Linked DNA regions of Homo sapiens: regions 1 and 3 are each linked to region 2. The links are contacts of gene promoters, found by promoter capture Hi-C in human tissues and cell types (Jung and others, 2019). All regions are on one chromosome and are shown on one strand. The core of a region is centred on a gene start or on the middle of the fragment in contact, and the rest is flanking DNA. Distances in the headings are between cores, read along the strand shown. Region 1 holds the start of CASS4 (Cas scaffold protein family member 4). Region 2 holds the start of MC3R (melanocortin 3 receptor). Region 3 overlaps AURKA (aurora kinase A).

Evidence for each region. Contacts are between HindIII fragments. The study calls those that stand out against the background at their distance.
Region 1: the fragment with the promoter of CASS4 here is called in contact with the fragment with the promoter of MC3R in region 2 in 1 of the 25 tissues and cell types used here (adrenal gland).
Region 3: a contact is called between a fragment that was not itself captured here and the fragment with the promoter of MC3R in region 2, in 1 of the 25 tissues and cell types used here (hippocampus).

Annotation. Positions count from the first base shown.
Region 1 is chr20:56,410,063-56,414,496 of GRCh38, forward strand. It overlaps CASS4 (Cas scaffold protein family member 4), which reads left to right and starts at 2,198. Exons shown (of 6, transcript NM_020356.4): 1 at 2,198-2,432. The coding sequence starts at 2,397. The HindIII fragment of the contact is 13,693 bases long and covers 1-4,434 here.
Region 2 is chr20:56,245,920-56,250,287 of GRCh38, forward strand. MC3R (melanocortin 3 receptor) reads left to right here and starts at 2,813. Exons shown (of 1, transcript NM_019888.3): 1 at 2,813-3,896. The coding sequence starts at 2,925. The coding sequence ends at 3,896. RefSeq lists a silencer at 2,214-2,283. The HindIII fragment of the contact is 18,891 bases long and covers 1-4,368 here.
Region 3 is chr20:56,382,897-56,387,410 of GRCh38, forward strand. It overlaps AURKA (aurora kinase A), which reads right to left. Exons shown (of 9, transcript NM_198437.3): 3 at 3,361-3,637; 4 at 1,374-1,428; 5 at 89-280. Among named protein-coding and RNA genes, the nearest start is that of AURKA, 7.1 kb to the right of the region's middle. RefSeq lists an enhancer at 3,190-4,389. The HindIII fragment of the contact is 3,694 bases long and covers 119-3,812 here.

The sequences.
Region 1 (4,434 bases), core at 948-3,447, 160 kb after region 2:
ATTATAGCATTCTGATCTGTATTATGAGCTTAAGGGCAGGCTCTTCAGTATAGGGAAGAATCACTGCCGGGAGTCTGCCAAGTTGATGGAAACCATCTGAACTTGAGTTACTGTGGAGTCTTTTCTAAGAGACTTGAATTCAGTTTCTGGGTCTGTTACTTTACTCTGTGACCTTGGGCAAGTTTATCCATCCTTCCTTTTCATTACAGAGAATTTCAGACATAAAAGTCAACAATACAGCAGAAACAGTGGTTTCCAGGGGCTGGGGGAAGAACAAGTAACTGCTAATGGGGTAAATGTCCAGGAATTGAAAGAGGATTACTTTTTGAAATGGTGGTTGCACAACTCTGAATGTACTAAAAACCACTGAATTGTATACTTCAAAAAGGTGCATTGGCCAGGTGCGGTGGCTCACACCTATAATCCCAGCACTTTGGGAGGCTAAGGCAGGTGAATGACGAGGTCAGGAGATCAAGACCATCCTGGCCAACATGGTGAAACCCTGTCTCTACTAAAATACAAAAAAATTAGCCGGGCATGGTGGCACGCACCTATAATCCCAGCTACTTGGGAGGCTGAGGCAGGAGAATCTCTTGAAACCTGGAGGTGGAGGTTGCAGTGAGCCGAGATTACACCACTGCACTCCAGCCTGGTGACAGAGCAAGACTCCGTCTCAAAAAAAATAAATAAATAAAGGTGAATTTTATGGTACCTGAATTATATCTTAATATAATATTAATATATTATTATTAATATAATTTATATCTTAATATCTCTATGGATCTCCTCCTTGAACCAAACTGTTCATTGCGTGGGGTCATTGTTCCCTCCCTGTTATCTGCTATCGCCTGCAGCATGCCAATTACTTGGCCCTGAAGTTAATTTCTAACAATGATAACATTTAAAAATGTGGACTGTCTCAGCCAGAAATCAGTCAGCTACTTCAATGGGTAAATACATCCTGGTGCCCAGACTTGTGGGGACGACACATGGGACAACCAGAGGACAAGACGCTAAGTGCTATCTGTTGAACTTGCCTCAGAGGTGTGGTAAAAGAAAAGAAAATTTAAAAATAAAAAATTAAAAAATGCTGTCTGACAAGAAGATAGCGGTAAGCTATCCCCCACAGCTGGTTGGGGATAGAACTTGAGCCTGGCTTGGAAGAATGGGCACCATTTTGTCTAAATAAAAATGCAGGCCGGGGCCAGGCGTTGTGGCTCACGCCTGTAATCCCAGCATTTTGAGAGGCTGAGGTGGGTGGATCACTTGAGGTCAGGAGTTTGAGACCAGCCTGGCCAACATGGTGAAGTCCTGTCTCTACTGAAAATACAAAAATTAGCCAGGCGTGGTGGCGGGTGCCTGTAATCCCAGCTGCTCTGGAGGCTGAGGCAGGAGAATCACTTGAACCCGGGAGGTGGAGGTTGCAGTGAGCCGAGATTGCGCCACTGCGCTCCCACCTGAGTGACAGAGAAAGACTCCGTCTCAAAAAAAAAAAAAAATGCAGACTTATTTTGCTCAGTGTCTGCTATGCTGTAGGTCCTCTCTAGAGATTGGATCTGAATTTAGGAAAAGTAAAAAGAGTTGGCAAGTGATGATAAACTGCATGAGCTAGCAGGGGTTTCAAGTACAACACACACGATAAGTTTATTTGATTTAAGAGAGAGAATACAGGTGCGGGGCTCAGCATAGCCCTCAGTGCAGAGCCAGTACCCAGAAGATGTTATTCATTAGGTACCATGAGCAAAGACCAGGAGATGAGCATGGGGTTCCGAGCAGGGTGAATGCACAACTGACAGGGTGGGTAGAGTGGAGACTGTGTCCTTTAAGGCAGCCTGTTTGACTGCTTTTATCCTGGCTGTCATAAGGCAAGTTTTAGGGAGCAGGAAGGAAGAAATGCTGACCGCTATCAGAAATTTGGCCTAGTGGCCTCTCATCAGGGAAATGAGCTTGGTCTGTTCGGTTGGAGTTGTTCCACAGAGTTCAAAGGACAAGAATGCTGTGTGTTCATACACTGAGCTCTTCGAAGTAGGAACTTCGCCCTATAAAGCAGAAGAGTGGTGTTTTTTTCTTCTTCTTCTTCTTTTGTGGTTTCACATAGCAAATGAGTGACAGTCTCTACTTACAGACAAAGTGAGACGTCAGGCATTGAGACGTGAGTGTGGCTTGTATTTCTGGTCCTCCCCTGCTTCACTGCTTTCATTTTACTCTTATCGTGCTTTCCAGAAAGTTTGCCTGCTGGGAGAGTCTTTTTGATCGTTTCCCATGTGTTGTCAGATAGCTCCATAGAATTCAGTTTCTGAGAACCAGCCAGAAGCATGCAGTGACATTGCACAATCTGCCTCTGAAGCTGGAGATACTAGCTGCAGAGCTCAGGGGAGCTGCTCCACATCACCGACATGAAGGGAACAGGCATCATGGACTGTGCGCCCAAGGTGAGTGATGTGGGGCTGTTTGAATGGGCTCTGGCGGGGAGCAAGCTGTGATGATTAAGGGTGTTGACCAGCTTTAGTTGTGACTTTCTAATAAAGGTTGAATACCAGTGACGTGTGAGTTGGAGATGGGAAAGTTTAACATAAGTTTAAGTGTGGGAAATAGATGTGTTGTAAAGCTCCTTACCAGTTTGCATCCAAGATGGGTGAAAATGACTTTGTAGTAGAAATCAGCTTACTTGGTTGACAGCGCCGTCCATCATTTTGCGTCCAGCAAACTCCTGAAGCAAGATGCGAGTCTGCCTCAGCCCCCGCTAATTCCTTCTTTCTCTGGACCCCAAAGACACTCAGTGCCACTCTAACTGTCCTATTTGGTTTCTGTGCTCACCTCCCAACAGCAGAGCCCAGACCCTTGCCTGCAGCCTCCCGTGCTGAGCCCACAGTGGGCACTTACATGTTATTTTCATGTTAACTTGTGCATTATGTGAGCAAAGCTGGAGCTTTCAGACAGACTTCATGCCTGTCATGAATCAAAAAAGATTCACTATTTAGAAAGGTGAAAGAAGCCAGGCACGGTGGTACATACCTGTACTCCAGCTACCGGAGAGGCTGAGGTGAGAAGATTAATTCAGCCCAGAAGTTTGAGTCCAGCCTGGGCAACATAGCGAGACCCCATCTTAAAAAAAAAAAAAAGAAAAGAAAAGTTAAAATGGCTACCATATTAAAAAAAAATTTACCCAGACATAAAGAAAGTGAAGCTCAAGGTTGTGTTTTCATCTTGCTATGCCCTTTTTAAATTTTAAGTAGAACAGGAAAAAAGAAATGAAACAAGCAGTAAATGGGGAGCTTGCTTATAAAAATCAATGCTTATTTTTCATTATAATAAAAGTGACTAGTGTGGCTGTCTGCGGTGGCTCACACCTGTAATCCCAGCACTTTGGGAGGCCAAGGCAGGTGGATCACTTGAGGCCAGGAGTTTGAGACCAGCCTGATCAACATGAAAAAACCCCATATCTACCAAAAATACAACAATTAGCTGAGCGTGGTGGCGCATGCCCGTGATCCCAGCTACTCGGGAGGCTGAGGCACAAGAATCGCTTGAGCCTGGGAGGCAGAGGTTGCAGTGAGCTGAGATTATACCACTGCATTCCGGCCTGGGTGACAGAGCAAGACTCTGTCTCAAAAAAAAAAAAAAAAAAAAAAAAAAAGTCACTAGTGGAATTTGTGACTGAGTAACCCATGACAGTCTCTCTTGTATAGATTATATGTAAATATCTTAGCTACCCTAGAATTTTGTCCCCAACTACTTACTTTGAAAAATTTCAAACCATTGGAAAAATATGGGAAGCGTGGGGGTTATTCAGTAAATCCCTGCATATCCTTCACCTAGATCATTGGTTTCTGGTACTTTGTCATATTTGTGTGCATTTATTTGTGTATATTTAGACACTGGAACACACTTCATTTTTATTGTTGTTGTTAAACTCTTTGAAAATAAATGGCCAATACAATGACGCTCCACCCCTAAACTTCATTATGTGTCTCCTAAGAACAAGGACATTCATCTACAGAACGTAGAAGAATATCTACATATCATCATACCCAAGAACATTTCACATTTATTTAATAATGCCTTTCTACTATTCAGTCTAATTCACGTTGATTTAATAATGCCATTCTACTATTCAGTCCACATTCACATTTTCCAAAATTATCCTTTTTAGCTTTTCTGGCTGTTGTTGTTTGTGTGTGTGTTTGTCTTTCTGATCCAGGTGGTGTTTGTCAATTCTCAGTTCTTAATCTAGAACAATCTACTACCTTTTTCTCTTTCATAACATTGACCTTTTTTCTAAACAGCCTAGATTTTTTATGATTTAGACTTCTTTTTATGTACTGCTTATTCTGCCTAAATAATTTATGTAGCGCTTTACAATTGGGTGGGGTTTTGTTATTTAAAAAAAATATTTTTAGCAATGGGGGTATCACTCTGTTGTCCAAGCTGGAC
Region 2 (4,368 bases), core at 1,563-4,062:
AAGCACAGAGCAGGAAAAGACCTAGTAGATAATGAATGGTCCCTGCCTTATAGTCTAGCTTTACATGTATGACTCATGCCCTTGAAACCACAGACTGGATGTGACCCTGAGGGTAAGAGAAGTTCCCAAAAGGATTAAGAATGTGTTTTTTTCCAACCTAGAAGAATGGTGGCTTGGCATCAGAAATTAAGTCGTTCTGTTGAAAATAAACAGAAGTGGAAATGTATATTCAGGGCAACTTAAACTCATGCTCTTGACAAAATATTTTTTTAAAAAAAGCAAATAAACAAAAGTATTTCTCATGCCCCTCAGTTCATAGACAGAAACTCATACCAACAGGCTTTTTTTTTATTTTAGTAAGAACTGCCAAATGGTGAAACTATTCACAAACACTAGAAATGCATGAGAGTGTCCTCCCGATATTCTTACCTGAATTTTGCATCTTTTTATCTCTTGTCAATCTAGCTGGGAAAACGATATTAAAATCTCATTTTGACTGGCATTTCCCCAACTTCCTAGATGGCTTCACATCTTTTCATGTTTATTAACCATTTGCATCTTCTCTTCAGTAAATTATTATTTATATCCTTTGCCCAATTTTCTTAGGGGTAATTTATCTTTTTCTAGTTAATGTGAAAGTAGTCTTTGTATGTAAGAGATAGTAACTTTACCTATAGCAAATATTTTCATTCTGTTTTTCTTTTAACTTAGTTCAGGGTGTTTTTCCATACTAAATTTTGGATTGCTCATCTTGCTTAAGATCTTTCCACCCCAAGGATCCTAAGTTTTCTTCTATTTCCATATGCATATTTTTAATATTTCTCACACCTACACACACATACATAGTTACATGGAGAGATGGATCATTAATTCACCTAGAATGTGCGTGTGTGTGTGTGTGTGTGTGTGTGTGTGTGTGTGTAGGGATGAGAAGACTCAGTGTTTTCTGAGTTCATATGATCTACATGGGGAATCAGATCTAACATGGACCAAGTGTTAAACCATACTTCCAAGAACAACACTACATTAGTAGGCCACCTGCTAACTTCTGCCTTTCACATTTTCCAGCTTAAAACATCTCCATCCTCCCCATTATGTAAGAAAGAAGTACAGGTGTTTCTGACTGCTCCCTCTCCCATGATCCCATAACCCATCAGTTCTGAAGCTGCATTATCCAACCTTCTGAATCTCTCTGACCACCCTCCAAGTCTTCCAAGTCCCCATGGCCACTCCCTTGCTCCAGGCCACCATCATCTCACCCTGGGTCTTTGCAACACCCTCTGCCCCGGACTCCCTGGCCTACATGCTCAGTCTGTCTAATTCATTCTCCACCCTGCAACCAGGAATATTTCTAAAATGCAGACCCCATCTCATTCCTGCCCTACCTATGTTTCTTCCACAGTCCCCATTGCTGTCAAGGTACTGTCCAAATTCTCACATCTGGCTGAGGCTGTCCTTCAGGATTCAGGCACCTCTCAACTTTTTAAGAAACTGTGCAGCCTCATTTCTCAGATTGTGTCTCCTATTTCCATGCTCTGACCAGAGCAGACTACTTTCAGCACTTTCAAAAGCCCAAGATTCTTTTTCAGTGGAGCTCAACTGTGACTATGCCCCAGCTCACCTGTCAAAAATTGCAAACACACTTGTTCAGGTCTTACACCTGGGTGATTCTGACTCCGCGGGTCAAATGGGATCTCCACATCCACAATCTGTGATGACTTCTATGGCCAGGGTGCTCTCTGCCTCCAGGCTGCAGACGTGTGATTCCCTCTGCCTGGAGTCCTCTTCTACCTCCTCCAGCTCCAGCCCCCACCCCACCACCCACCCCAAACTGGATATGACCTCTTCCTCCTTGAAGTCAAAGCATAGGTGCTCCTTCCTCCAGGAACTTTGACAGTCCGGGTTAGGGCTCTTCCTCTTTGCATCCCTGGTTTCCTGGACTTTCCTGATTCAAGCATTTATTGATTCCTCTTCTTCCACCCCAGACTCTGAGTTCGGGGAAGCCTGAGATAGTGGCTGTTGTCTTGCTCACCACTGTATTTCCTGCACTCAGCAGAGACCTGACACATAGTAGGCGCTCAATAAATGTTTGCTAAACAACAACAACAAATGAATGAACTAACAAATAAACAAACAAATGAACAGATGAGTGGATGCCTGTGGCAGTTTCCATGACAAACACAAAGGGCTAAGCCAAGCCAGCAAGCAGACAGCCGTGCGGCCTGCAGAGGGCACTAGTCTGCTTCTTAATCTCCCTGCAGAATCCTCAGGGCCAGGTACCTGCTGTCAGTCAGAGAGGTGCCCGATGCTCAGTGGTCATTCTGCTGCGCTGAAGATTAAGTAGGAGTTGTTTGCCCTTGGCCAATATGAAAAACCTGAGTGTTCTCCCTTCACTTCTAGCGACAAGTAACACATCCCCTGTCTTGCCATGAAAAGAGCTGTAACTGTAGCAGCCGGTGGCAGGTTTTCTGTTCCCAGGTGGGGAAGTGAGGAGAGACAAACAGAGGGGTGAGAGGGAGACAGAAGGAAGACAGCTGGTAAGAGACCCTATGGTGTATTTTTTCTATGTAAACAAGATAAAAACTGCTCCTCCTGGAACAGCAAAGTTCTCCCTATGTCTCCAAGCTACAAACTTGCATGCTAGCTACTAACTAGCTACTCTCCCTCTCTCTCTCTCTTCCCCCTTCGCTCTTTCTCTCTGTGTGTATGTCTCTCTCTCTCTCTGTCTCTTCCTCCACCCTCTCTCACTATCTGTCTCTCTACCCTCCCCATCCTTTTATTCTAGAGGAGAATAAACTCTAAGGCCAGATTGAATGAGCATCCAAAAGACGTATCTGGAGGGAGATTTTGTCTTTCCTGTGAGCAGCAGCAGCTTCCTACGGACCCTGCTGGAGCCCCAGCTCGGATCAGCCCTTCTGACAGCAATGAATGCTTCGTGCTGCCTGCCCTCTGTTCAGCCAACACTGCCTAATGGCTCGGAGCACCTCCAAGCCCCTTTCTTCAGCAACCAGAGCAGCAGCGCCTTCTGTGAGCAGGTCTTCATCAAGCCCGAGGTTTTCCTGTCTCTGGGCATCGTCAGTCTGCTGGAAAACATCCTGGTTATCCTGGCCGTGGTCAGGAACGGCAACCTGCACTCCCCGATGTACTTCTTTCTCTGCAGCCTGGCGGTGGCCGACATGCTGGTAAGTGTGTCCAATGCCCTGGAGACCATCATGATCGCCATCGTCCACAGCGACTACCTGACCTTCGAGGACCAGTTTATCCAGCACATGGACAACATCTTCGACTCCATGATCTGCATCTCCCTGGTGGCCTCCATCTGCAACCTCCTGGCCATCGCCGTCGACAGGTACGTCACCATCTTTTACGCGCTCCGCTACCACAGCATCATGACCGTGAGGAAGGCCCTCACCTTGATCGTGGCCATCTGGGTCTGCTGCGGCGTCTGTGGCGTGGTGTTCATCGTCTACTCGGAGAGCAAAATGGTCATTGTGTGCCTCATCACCATGTTCTTCGCCATGATGCTCCTCATGGGCACCCTCTACGTGCACATGTTCCTCTTTGCGCGGCTGCACGTCAAGCGCATAGCAGCACTGCCACCTGCCGACGGGGTGGCCCCACAGCAACACTCATGCATGAAGGGGGCAGTCACCATCACCATTCTCCTGGGCGTGTTCATCTTCTGCTGGGCCCCCTTCTTCCTCCACCTGGTCCTCATCATCACCTGCCCCACCAACCCCTACTGCATCTGCTACACTGCCCACTTCAACACCTACCTGGTCCTCATCATGTGCAACTCCGTCATCGACCCACTCATCTACGCTTTCCGGAGCCTGGAATTGCGCAACACCTTTAGGGAGATTCTCTGTGGCTGCAACGGCATGAACTTGGGATAGGATGCAGGGCCATGGAAATGATCATCAGTCGGGTCACTTTTGACTTTCCATCCACGTGAGGTGTTTAGAAAGAAAAATATATATACTTAGAAAATATAAAAATGTGTTAACAGCCATGATTGTACTTGTCGTTTGTTTTTAAGTTTACAAAGCCTTTTAAAGGGGAAAATTGGTGAACAACAGATTCTCTGAAAGGATTCCAAGATGGGTAAGTCACAAACTCTGATTTCCCAAATAGTCACTGGGAGAAATCAGCGAAGGCTTCTCTGCATGCTCTCTGCACTCATTTCCAAACACCCAGGGTGTGCGACGCCTGTCTGCTCATCTGCTCCACACCCACGTCTTCATGCTCCAGGCCAGACCAGACTGAAGGATTCTCATGAACAATAAGGGTGGTTCAGATCTCTTGCAAGCAAACCTGTTACAGCTACGACCTCCTGCTGCCAGCTACACGGAGAGATAGCTTTGCACT
Region 3 (4,514 bases), core at 716-3,215, 140 kb after region 2:
GACCTGGGCAGTGGGAGGCTGACATTACAGGAGGGGGAGGGGTGCAGCATTGGTGAACATTCTTTTGAACATGAACCTGAAAACTCACCGAAGGTGGGACTGTATTTCTACTTCTCTTCTGAGCTGATGCTCCACTCCGGCTTTCTCCAGCTGAGCTTTAAATAACACTTTAAGAGCCAGAATAAACTTGCTTTGCTTTTCTCTTGCCAAATAAACATTACCAAACTTTCCTTTACCCAGAGGGCGACCAATTTCAAAGTCTTCCAAAGCCCACTGCCTCCTAGGAGGAATTTGAACACTTTAGAATGTGAAGAAAACAAAGCTTTTCTAACAAATTTTCAATGAGTAGCAGACACATTCTACAAATAATTTCGTATTCCAACTTCACTCAATATGCATCCTCAGCAAGAACCAAGGCAATAACCACTATCAAAGAGCTGCCACGACATGAAACCCTGACGTCCCTAGCTGCCGTCAGGTGTGAGAGTCAGTGACAAGGAGCAGTCTCGGGTTTTAGACCTGAAGCACTCTATGGGAAATGTCCCAAGCCCGTACTATGCTCAGAGGAACAGGGCCATGACAACGCTGAAGACCACAAAAAGGATAAGTGACCAGAGAGGGAGGAATGCTTCCAGACCATCTGGGGGCATGTTTCAAACTAACCCCAGCTGCTCCCTCCAGTCCCAGAGGTGCTAATTCTCTCTGGGTGGAGAACCACTCTGGTGGTGGAGACAGAGCCACTGTTACTAATGGAAGCGGGATGGAGCCCACAGGCTAGCTGGGGCATGAGAACCAGTGGATTTAGACTCTTAGCCTCTGTTAGACCGCTAAAAGCAAAAGAGTCTGTGGGTTCATTCCTCGCTCCTCCCGGTACATTCTAGAGTCCAGATAGTTCAGAGACTGAGAGGAGGCTTTTAGAAAAGCCCTGGGGAAGACATTACAGCCAACCTTTACAATAAAGAACTAAAACTATAATACTGTCAAAACCCTCAGTCATATATGAGTATATAGTTCTGCAACATATTCTATTTTTTAAAAACTTGCACTTTTGTACAATAAAAAAGTACAGACGCATAAACCATATGTAGTGGTTATTTCTAAGGACAGAGAGGAACTTCCACACATTTCTATAAAAGATTCATACAAGCTTTTTCTAAATTTGAAAGCCATTTTTTAAAGCACTTGAGTTCCTAGTAAAATACCTCATTACACAAAATTCCATTTTTTTTAAGATTGGAAATCTGGAAACATTTATATCCTCTAAATGCAAATAAAGGCCTCATTTTTTTCCCCAGAGTTCCCACAACGAAATTTGCAACGAAATAATATATTCTAGTAGAACAGTACAGAACTTTGTAAATAAGAAAGCTTACTTTTTTGATTCTTCATTTTTCTGTTTTGATGCCAGTTCCTCCTCAGGATTATTTTCTATATGGAATAAGTTAAAAACCTGTTTTTAGAATAACTATATAGGATAAGCTAAGCTGTGAATAGAGGTGAATCAAAGAATTGGTCACCAAAATATTAATGGTATGTCAAGAATGATAAATCTGTTTTTTTTTTTTAAAGTTTTCCTTATAGAAAAAAAGGACTACTACACCCTGACTTCCATCATGTGAAGCCTTTATAGAATTTCTAAAGATGAGCAGACGTATATATAGACAGGCCCTTCTCTGATAAATTAAAGGCAGACTATGCAGGCTCTTCTGAAGCCTCAGTTTCCAAAGAAGAGCTTTTGTGGCAGAAGTACCAATCTTCCCATGCATGACGAGCTGCCAACTCGTCACCTTTTTCCCCTTACTAGGTGGGCCAGCCAACAGTCCATACCCTACATACGAATTATCACCAACATGTAGCAAAACATAAGCCAGCCACCCTCCATTTATATTAGCTGCCAAGGGGAAATATAAAAATAAAAGCCACCAATTCAGCAAAATGCACAATGAACAGTTGTGCAGCAGAGGACTGGGGTAACTATTTCATCAGCCACAAGGACATATGAAACATTTCCACTGGTCTGTCTCCAACATAGCAAACTCGAACAGCACACAATGCTCTGCTCAGATATCTGGATGCTGGTCCAAACTCTTCCTCCAGATGCCCCTGTCACATGTGCACCCCTCAACCCCCAGGACACTCACTCAATTAATATCAATCTAATCACCATCCCTAACTCCTCTTTATTCATCTTTCAGGTACAATTTATTGCCCAGTTCTAATGAGTCTGCATCGTAAATGAGCTCTCAAATTTGTGTGCACCTCTCCATCCTGGCTTGTCTTTGGATAAGTTAACTGCTTCTGAGTCTTAGCTTCCTCCTCTGTAAAACTGAGTTAATAACTGGCTACCTTCATGAAGTGGTTACGAAGATTGAAAGAGATGACGTGGATGAAGCACGCACTTATCTCAGAGCCTGCAGGGAATGAGCACTCAACAGTTGGTAAATAATTGCATCCACTCTGCTCCACACAGAGCAGGTTATTGCCATCTCTGACCTCAACCTCCTTCCTGTCTGGTACTCCTAAATCCAGCGTTCTACTCCAATTTATTCAGTACTTCCACAGTAAATTTTTTTTTTTTTTTTGAGATAGAATTTTGCTCTTGTTGCCCAGGCTAGAATGCAATGGCACAATCTCGGCTCACCACAACCTCCACCTCCTGGGTTCAAGCCATTCTCCTGCCTCAGCCTCCTGAGTAGCTGGGATTACAGGCGTGCACCACCACGCCTGGCTAATTTTGTATTTTTAGTAGAGACAGGGTTTCTCCATGTTGGTCAGACTGGTCTCCAACTCCTGACCTCAGGTGATCCACCTGCCTCGGTCTCCCAAAGCGCTGGGATTACAGGCGTGAGCCACTGCGCCTGGCCTTCCACAGTAAACTTTCTAAAAGGCAGAGTTCCCTTCTGAGTTCAAAAAAGCTTCAGTAGCTTCCAAATGCCCTAGAGATGAGGCCCCATTCCTTAACATGGCCAGCAATGCCCATGGTGACCTCACCGCAGCCTGCCTCAGTTCACCCACTTCTCTGGATTTCCCCCACACTTTAGATCTCAGTCCCTTCAAGTCACTTACTGCAAGCACCCTACATCCAGACTCAGTAACAAGCAATCAAAAGGACACCAATTTATGCTGTGTCCTCCCTGGGTGCCCAACTCTTCCAAGAGGGTGAGAATCAGGTCTGTATTTTTAGCATAGGTCTGGCCCATGGGCAGACACTGTTACTTCAACCCAGACACCATATTTTCTCCCCATCCTCAACAGATATAAAAGCTAAGGCTCCAAACAATAAGTGCAAGTATATACACTGGCTTTTTTAGCAACGACGACAAAGAAGGACTATCCAATGAGTCTCAAAAGCTAGTTTACCAGGTGCCGATGGCAGGGGCTGCTTGCTCTTTTGGGTGTTATTCAGTGGCCTGGAGACAGGATGAGGTACACTGGTTGCCTGCAATTGCTTCTGCTTCTGATTCTGAACCGGCTTGTGACTGGAGACAAGCTTTTGTGCTTGCAAAGGAATGCGCTGGGAAGAATTTGAAGGACACAAGACCCGCTGAGCCTGGCCACTATTTACAGGTAATGGATTCTGACAAGGAAATTGCTGAGTCACGAGAACACGTTTTGGACCTCCAACTGGAGCTGTAGCCTAGAATGGAAGAGAAAATAAACTTTCTGGCATTCATGAAAGCAAAAGATGAATATATTGAGAATTTCACAAAGTTTGTTCTCTAGTATAGCAAAATAATGAATGTCACTGATAAGAGATGGAAGGTGAAAAGGTATTTTAATCAGTACCTCCAGAGGATAGTTAGTATGTGGCTAAGAATACCTGAATGATACCTTCTATCCCCTCCAATTCCTCACCCCTAAAAATCATGCTTTATTAACAAATATCCATTAATGAAGGAGACACTTTCTAAAATTTCTCAATAATTTGGAAATAGACACTACATTGCTATTTGGCAAAAAGCTATGATACAAAAACTTTATGCCAAAATCTCAGTTCCATTGAAATTTCTTTGATAATATACGTTTAAGAAAAAGACCAAAAAAAAATACGTCAAAACGTTCAACAGTGGTATTATCTTCATGAAGTTTTAGAAGAGTCTAAGTTTTCATATATCGAAGATTTTCCACAATAAGCTTATTACTGTACTATTGATTAACCAATGTTTCATTTTCCAAGTATTGACAAAATGGAATTGAGCAAAAAACTGACAAAGAGGAAACAAATGTAGACACTTCACAAAGTTACTACTAAAATGTATTATTATTATTATTTTTGAGATGGAGTCTTGCTCTGTCACCCAGACTGGAGTGCAGTGGCATGATCTCGGCTCACTGCAACCTCTGCCTCCCAGGTTCAAGCAATTCTCTGCCTCAGCCTCCCAAGCAGCTGGGACGACAGGCGCCTGCCACCACGCCTGGCTAATTTTTTGTATTTTTAGTAGAAACAGGGTTTCACCATCTTGGCCAGGCCGGTCTTGAACTCCTGACCTTGTGATCCACTCTCCTTGGTCTCC